3 separate regions of the Homo sapiens genome follow, and regions 1 and 3 are each linked to region 2. Evidence: promoter capture Hi-C in human tissues and cell types (Jung and others, 2019). All regions are on one chromosome and are shown on one strand. The core of a region is centred on a gene start or on the middle of the fragment in contact, and the rest is flanking DNA. Distances in the headings are between cores, read along the strand shown. Region 1 has its middle 120 kb from the start of ANAPC4. Region 2 holds the start of SLC34A2 (solute carrier family 34 member 2). Region 3 has its middle 100 kb from the start of ANAPC4.

The links. The method cuts DNA at HindIII sites, captures the fragments that hold promoters and counts their contacts. A contact is called where the count stands out against the background at its distance.
Region 1: a contact is called between a fragment that was not itself captured here and the fragment with the promoter of SLC34A2 in region 2, in 1 of the 25 tissues and cell types used here (IMR-90 fibroblasts).
Region 3: a fragment that was not itself captured here is called in contact with the fragment with the promoter of SLC34A2 in region 2 in 3 of the 25 tissues and cell types used here (H1 embryonic stem cells, aorta and small bowel).

Annotation. Positions count from the first base shown.
Region 1 is chr4:25,499,856-25,502,555 of GRCh38, forward strand. No RefSeq gene overlaps it. Among named protein-coding and RNA genes, the nearest start is that of ANAPC4, 120 kb to the left of the region's middle. The HindIII fragment of the contact is 7,490 bases long and covers 1-2,700 here.
Region 2 is chr4:25,654,581-25,657,280 of GRCh38, forward strand. SLC34A2 (solute carrier family 34 member 2) reads left to right here and starts at 1,271. Exons shown (of 13, transcript NM_006424.3): 1 at 1,271-1,310. RefSeq lists an enhancer at 721-1,634. The HindIII fragment of the contact is 21,396 bases long and covers 1-2,700 here.
Region 3 is chr4:25,476,076-25,478,775 of GRCh38, forward strand. No RefSeq gene overlaps it. Among named protein-coding and RNA genes, the nearest start is that of ANAPC4, 100 kb to the left of the region's middle. The HindIII fragment of the contact is 4,875 bases long and covers 1-2,700 here.

The DNA.
Region 1 (2,700 bases), core at 97-2,596, 150 kb before region 2:
TGGAGTTCGAATCCCAGTTCTGCCACCTGTCTACTATGTGATCTTAGAGGGATAGCTTGACCTTTCTGTGCCTGGAAAGTAGAATTAATAATACCTACCTCATAGAGTTGTGGGGGTTCAATGAAATGATATATGTAAGCTATTAGAATGTTGCCTGACATAGAATAAAAACTCATTGACATTACTTATTATGATGATTGTTGTGCAGCAAAATAGGTACCTTATAAAATACTTTAAAATTATAAATTTAAGATTAAGATAGGCGGTAATCCCAGCACTTTGAGGGGGCTGAGACAGGTGGATCACTTGAGGCCAGGAGTTCAAGACCTGCCTGGCTAACATGGTGAAACCCCATCTCCACCAAAAAAATACAAAAAAATTAGCCAGGCATGGTGGCATGTGCCTGTAATCCCAGCTACTCGGGAGGCTGAGGCAGGAGAATTGCTTGAACCCAGGAGGAGGAGGTTGCAGTGAGCCAAGATCGTGCCACTGCACTCCAGCCTGGGTGACAGAGTAAGACCCTGTCTGAAAACAAACAAACAAAAAAAAGCACAAACAAACAAAAAGAGATCAAGATTACAGAGGTTCTGTTATGTCCCTTCACCTTCATGAATTGTCTTGTGATGTCTGGGGTGCATTCACCCCCACTTTGGAAACTGCTGGCTTAAGCAATGATAGAAACATACTATGTCCCTGGGTATTCTGATTCTTGAGATGCTCTGTAAAGCTTGGAGGACTGTGGGTGGGTGGATTCTTCCACGCTTGGATTATGCACACTCTCATTTCTACACAAACCTCTTGGCTTCTCTGCTTGTAAACAGTAATCAGGTCAGGCTGAATGTGGGGCCGGTAGTCCCAAGCTCCTGGCCAGTCCTACTCAGTCATTCCTAAGGATGGAGGCTGCACGGGCTCTGCCTCTTACCTTGCACCTGCCACCCTGTGCTTAAGCAACTCCCGCACAGCTTAACTCCTGGAGACAGTGGCCGGTGGGGACAGCTGCATGTCAGTCTGTGCTGTGAAACCAGTCATCCTTGTAACCAAATGTGAGAGCGGCAGATTAAAGCAGAATTACCTAAAGAGGTTTGTAGGACACACACTGACTGAGTCCCCTGCTGCCAGCAGCTGCTCTTCTTGACATGGGGCCAACCCAGAAACTTTGCAGGATGCTCTCAGATGCTCCAGCAGCCAGAGAGGTGATGATGGCCCTGGAACTGCTGAGAGCAGCTGGTTTCATCAGGGCTGGCTGAATGTCTGGATCAACAGCGAAATCTCTGACTCTGTGCCAGGGAGTGGGCTCGTGGGCACTGCGTTGACAACTGTGACTAGTAAACCCAGCGGGAACCAGGTCTAATTACAGTAGAGCTACAGAAATTGCCCCCACATTCCAGCTGTTTAAGTCAGATAATTTTAGGGTTGAGAAAGACCCTAGAGATCACCTAATGGATCCCAAACCTAGTTGCTTACAGCATCAATGAGAAGCCTTAAAATTTTTATAGTGAATTAGCTCAGTCATATAAAACAGTGGAGGGGCTGAGTCACCACATCATCCTGTGTTCCACTTAGCTTAAGAAATGGAGGCCAGGCGAGGTGGCTCCCACCTGTAATCCCAGCACTTTGGGAGGCTGAGACAGGCAGATCACTTGAGTTTGGGACCAGCGTGGCCAATATGGTGAGACCCCATCTCTACTAAAAATACAAAAATTAGCCAGGCGTCGTGGTGCGTGCCTGTAATCCCAGCTAGTCAGGAGACTGAGGCAGGAGAACCACTTGAACCTGGGAGGCGGAGGTTGCAGTCAGCCGAGATGGCACCACTGCACTCCAGCCTGGGTGACGAAGTGAGACACATCTCAAAAAAAAAAAAAAAAAAAAGTTCCCCAAGCATTCCCAGTGACCCAGTGATGAGCCAGGATTGGTGAATAACCGCTCTCACTGGGGCTTGCCTGAGTGGACTGAGCACCTGTGTTGAAGTTAAAAGACCTGAGGTCCCATCCTGGTGGTGCCACCTCCCTCCTGTGTGACACCTGGCAAGGGGCATATTCCCCAAAACCTCAATTTCTTCATCTGTAAAAAGGGGATAAGGACAATAAACTTCCTTTCGAGCTCATGCATGTATATGAAGCTCTAAAACACTACACAGACATAGGACTTAAGGGCTCATGCAGCCTAGGGTTGGTCACCTCCAGTGACAGGAGGCTCATTACTTTCAGAGACAGCCTCCCCCCACCCTTTTTTCTGAAAGCTCTGATGGACAAAACGTCCTTCCTTATTCTGAGTAGAAATCTGTTCCCTGTCATTTTCTCCTATTGGATTTAATTCCACCCCTCAGGGAACCACAGAATAAACTTAATCCTTAATTTGCAGACCAGTTTTTTGAATAATCGAAGACAATATAGCCCTTTGGCTTTCCTTCTCTACCTCAATTCTAGGCTTCTCCACACACTGTACTGAGAAAGTCCCTTTATGAATAAGCAATATTTCCAGAAATTACCATAGGCATGGCTACATTTCAGCAAACCGGAGAGGCTGTGTTCCTGGATTAGTGATTCAGGAAAATCCATTTAGCCTCTAGTTAATTAAATCGCCCAGTCACATCAAGTCGTCTTGTTAAATTAATCACCTGTGCTATGGGATCTACTTATTAAAGTATTTGCTTAGTAAGTGTATAACATCTATGCAACCCTTTTATGTGCCAGGCACTGC
Region 2 (2,700 bases), core at 21-2,520:
TCCAACGGGGACCATTATTCCCAGTTTGCACATAAGCAAATGGAGCCAGGGAAAGCAAGGGGCAGAACAGGGAACTGATTTCCCGGAGTTTCGGCCCAGAGTCAGTGTGCTTAGCCACCGCCAACACCAGCCCCAGAGCTCTAGGCTCCTGGAAGTCGTGCTCCCGAGTCCTTCCCCTTGCACAGTGGAGAGAACTCGATGTTGGAATGAAACCAGCTAATTCCAGTAGGGTGCTTCCGCTGTTGTGAGGAGCTGGGCAACTAGTAAGCTCACTGAGCCTCACTGTGCTCCACTATAAAACCAGGAGAGTGCGCAGCAGAGGAGAGGGTCTGGGTTTCAGAATAAGAAGCAGGTTTTCTTCCTGCTCAGCAAATCCTGGGTAATTGTATCATATCCCCTAACCCCTTAAACCTCAGCTAGAGAGGGCGCCAGTCTTAGCCCCAGGGAAGGCTTTCGTGTGCACATTGGAGACAAAGCCTGCCCAGCAGTGCCCGGCACAGAACTGGGGAGCTGTTGGGATAAGCATGGGGGTGGACTCTCCCTGGGACAGATCCTATCTCACAGCAGTTTGGAGAACTGTTGTATACACACGCAGGTGACACGAGGCAGAGCAGGATGTGAAACGAGCGCAGTGGTTTGCCAAACCCGCAGCAGGCTTAGGACGGAGTGGTGAGAACAGCCCCCTTCCTTTTCCTCAGCTTGACGGTCCCAGCCTTTCCCATTGCGGACCTAGAGCCCAGACTCCCAGGGCAGAAAGCGCCCCACAGACTGATAAAGGTGAACAATCCAGGCTTTGTTTCCAAGGGCTTTATCCCTGACTTTCCAACTGGCTTTTATCTGTGTCTTCACGTCTCTGACCTCTTGAGCCTCACAGGAGCTAGACTAGAAGGTTCAAGTTCTTGAGGAGAAGGCAGGGGCGGGAGAGCCCCACTTGCGGGAATCTCGTGCGGACCGAGTCGGGGCGGGAGAGGGCGCGCACCAGCCAGGCTAGGGCGCGCGGGGCGCCGAGGGGCGCGGGGCCGTTTGGGGCCGTTCGGGCCAGTTCGCGCGGCGGGGCCCGTCGGAGCTTTTCTCTCGGCAGCCTGGCTGGCCGCGCGTCTTCTCCGCGCAGCGGGCGAAGTCGCGATGGGTTCATTAAGGCGGCAGGTAGGCAGTGCCCCGGCGGCGGCTGCGGCAGGCGGTCCTGGAATGTGCGAGGGGCGTGATGACAGCGGCCAGCCTCTTTGCGCAACACCTTCGCCATATATACCCGGGGCGCTGCGCTCCACCTGGCCGCCGCCTCCAGCCCAGCACCTGCGGAGGGAGCGCTGGTGAGTACCGCCGCCGGGGCAGGGGCGCTTCCTCGCTCTTTCAAGGACTTTGATTCACTTAATTCTTGCAAATACCTCTCGGTGCTGACTTCAAGGAACTTGGCTGGCTTTGGGCCGCAGAAGTGAAAAACACAAAGCTCTCCACAATGTTCAAGTTGTTTTCTTCTTAATGTTACGGTTATTGCTTTTATTACAGCTTTTGCTGCTACACTCTTACGATCGACAGTGTTATTAATCAGCCACACTTGTGGATTCTAAAATGATCACTGTTTTGAGAGTCGTGGTTTGGAAGAGGAAAGGCCCAGGGGATAGAAATCTCCACCTAGGAATCAGGATAGCTAGGCTCTTTGTGGCTGGGTCACCAACTAGCCATGTGACAACGCTAGTCCCTGTGAGCCCCTGGGCTGCCGTCTTCCATTCTTTATAAGAAGGGGAATGCGACATCTCAGGACCATGAAAATTCTAGGTTTGTGGTGGCTGCCTGGTGATGTGACACTGCCCCCCACCCAAGTGTGACTTCCACGTGGTACAGTGCTTGTTTGCAGTTATTTAAGGTGCCTAGGAGACAGTCTTAGTTTGTTTCTATTAGGGCCCGTGGCCATCAGCGAAGGGTCCGTCCTTCAGCCGTCTTGGGGAGCAAAGCCCGCAATTTATGTTTTCCAAGCCACAAATGGGTGAGCAGGCTGGGGAGATAACTTACAAGGAGATGTGCACAGGAGTGGTTGGGTTCGGGGACTGCGCATCCTCAGGCCAGAAAGTTGGGGGCTGCATGGCATGGAGTTAGTTCAGGTTCCCTGCAACGGTGCCTGCCACCGGTGGCTCGCACTGCGCTGAAGAGAGTTGGAATCTCGTTTTCTTTGAGGAGGTCCCTTTTTCAAACATGTTGATTTCATGGAAGCAGCTTGTGGATTTCATCACTCGAGTCCCCTCTTCCTGTTTGGGTGCCCCAGGGGGTTTCTGTGTTAGCCCTGATCGCTCTGGGCCTTGTCGTTCTTTCCTTTTTCCTTCTTCCCTTGTGTGCTGGCAGTTCTTTAACTTGTCCTGGGTTGGGTATTCTTGGAAAACTGTGCTTGTAGGAGTGGCCGTTGTTTCAGATTGTTAAAGAAAAACAAAAATAAAAAAGATTGCCTCTTTTGTCCCATGCCCGCTGATCATGATCTTCTCTGCTTTTGTAATTTGGGGAATGGGTGATAAGAAAGGCGTGCTTTGTAAAAGGTTTGGATGCTAAACAAATTGCCCCATCCAAAACTCCCCAAATTGCTCAACTGTCTCAATGAAGCAAGTCCCCTGTGGTATGAGGATGGGCTTCTGATTGTTGCTGTTAGACACAAAGGGGACAAAAAAATAGCCCGAATTCAATGCAATGAGGAAAACAGCCTCACAGAATCAG
Region 3 (2,700 bases), core at 164-2,663, 180 kb before region 2:
CAAGACCCTACCTCTAATTTAAGAAAATAATAATAATAATATGAACAACTCTTACCAAACAATAGTTTTGGCAGCATTTCTGGTGCTGTCTAGTCATCCATCCTTTTACAAGTATAAAAATAAGATAAAATGTCCTAGAGCCAATCCTAGCTTAAATTTGTCAGTATTTTTATATGTTATTAAGCTTTTTCCTCCAAATTTTGTAACTGAAATTCTGTTCATCTTTGCATACTTGATGGCATCTATGTCAATATTGATTGACTATTTATGAGTAGAATTCTGAAACCTAATTTAAAATTTAGTTTGCCCTTTTTTTTTTAAAAAAAAGTATTGCCTTCTGAGTAAATGATGGTAGTAACATGAAGTATAGTTTAAAACTATAGTATCGCATTGGTTGTTAAGTATAAATAAATAAAATCTAACCAAATTCGTCTAAAACAGACTGAACTCTATCTTTTCATCAAACCAACATTTTTGTAAGAGCAATTTCACTTTGTGTTTTAGAGTAGACATTTTTGGAAATCCTTGAATAAAAAGCTCTTATTAAATCTCCCTGGAATAGCTCATAACCAAAGAGGAAGAAAAAAATAGCTTATGGTGTGATATATTTAGGATTTATATATTTAACTACTTATTTGTCTGTGAAGAAGTCTTCCTGACTAAAGATGGCTTTCAGATAAATTTTAATTTCTCTATGAGTCTTTTGCTATTCCTATAATTCATGCCTTTTTGTTAGAAACTAATATAGGTTTTGTGTGATTTTTTTTTTCAATGAGCAAAAATAAGTTAAATAAGTAAGTAAGTGAACAAATAAACAGGTAGTTTAAAGCAAAGGAAGGGCCCAGCGTGATGACTCACGCCTGTAATCCCAGCACTTTAGGAGACTGAGGCGGGCAGATCACCTGAGGTGAGGAGTTCAAGACCAGCCTAGCCAACATGGTGAAACCCCGTCTCTACTAAACATGCAAGAAATTAGCCGGGTGTGGTGGTGGGCGCCTGTAATCCCAGCTACTTGGGAGGCTGAAGCACAAGAATCGCTTGAACCTGGGAGGCGGATGTTGCAGTGAGCTGAGATCGTGCCATTGCACGCCAGCCTGGGGCAACAAGAATGAAACTCCATCTCAAAAGAATAAAAAAAGAAAAATAAAGCAAAGGAAGTATAAACGGTTCTTAAATTGATGGAAATATGCCCAACTTTACTCATAATAAGAAAAATAAACTAAAATGACATTGAGCTAACATTTTTATCTCTGAGATTGGCAGGATGTCACAAATTTGGTAACACACTCTGTTGGTGAAGCTGTGGGGAGACACATGCTCTAACACATTGCTTTTGGATGGCTAAACAGCATCCATCCTGTGGGGCCATGTGGGAATATGATGCTTTTGCTTGACTCACCACTTCTACCCCTGGGGAATTTATCTGCAGATACTTGTGTATGTGTACAAAAATGTGCACACAAAGTCATTCACTGTGGCACTGTTTAAGCTTCAAAATATTGGAAACAACAAAATTGTCAATTAGAATATTGCTAAATAAATGATGGTTTACTCATACAATTAAATGTTATGTGGCTGAAAAAAAGAATGAGGACACTATGTAATAATTTGGAAAAAATTCTAAAATATATTACTAAGTGAAAAAACAAAGTAGGGAAGAATGTTTCAGAAAAGGCTAACTTTTGGGTAAGAAAATGGGAGAAATAAGAATATATATTTGCCCAGCGTGGTGGCTCGTGCCTGCAATCCCAGCACTTTGGGAGGCCGAGGTGGGCGGATCACCTGAGTTCGGGAGTTCAAGACCAGCCTGGCCAACATGGTGACACCCTGTTTGTACTAAAAATACAAAAATTAGCTGGGCATGGTGTTGGGTGCTTGTAATCCCAGCTATTCAAGAGGCTGAGGCAGGAGAATTGCTTGAACCCTAGAGGTGGATATTGCAGTGCACCAAGATCATGTCACTGCACTCCAACCTGGGTGACAAGAGCAAGACACTGTCTCAAAAAAAAAAAAAAGAATATATATTTACATTTGATTGTGTATGTGTATACACACACACACACACACACACACACGCAAACAAATGGAAAAACATTCCATGCTTATGGATAGGAAGAATCAATATTGTTAAAATGGCTATACTGCCCAAGGCAATTTACAGATTCAATGCTATTTCTATCAAACTACCAATGACATATTTCTCAGAATTAGAAAAAACTATTCTAAATTTCATACGGAACCAAAAACGGAGCCTGAACAGCCAAAGTAATCCTATGCAGAAAGAACATAGCTGGAGGCATCACATTGCCCAACTTCAAACTCTACAACAAGGCTACAATAACCAAAACAGCATGGTAGTGGAACAAAAGCAGATACATAGACCAATGGAACAGAATAGAGAGCCCAGAAATAAAGCCACACACCTACAATCATCTGATCTTTGACAGCGTTGACAAATACAAGCAATGGGGAAAGGACTCACTATTCAATAAATGGTGCTGAGATAACTGGCTAGCCACATGCAGAAGATTGAAATTGGGCCCCTTCCTTACACGATATACAGAAAGCAACTCAAGATGGATTAAAGACTTAAATGTAAAATGTAAAACTATAACAACCTTTGAAGAAAACCTAGGAAATACCATTCTGGACATAGGCCCTGGCAAAGGTTTCATGATGAAGATGCCAAAAGCAATTGCA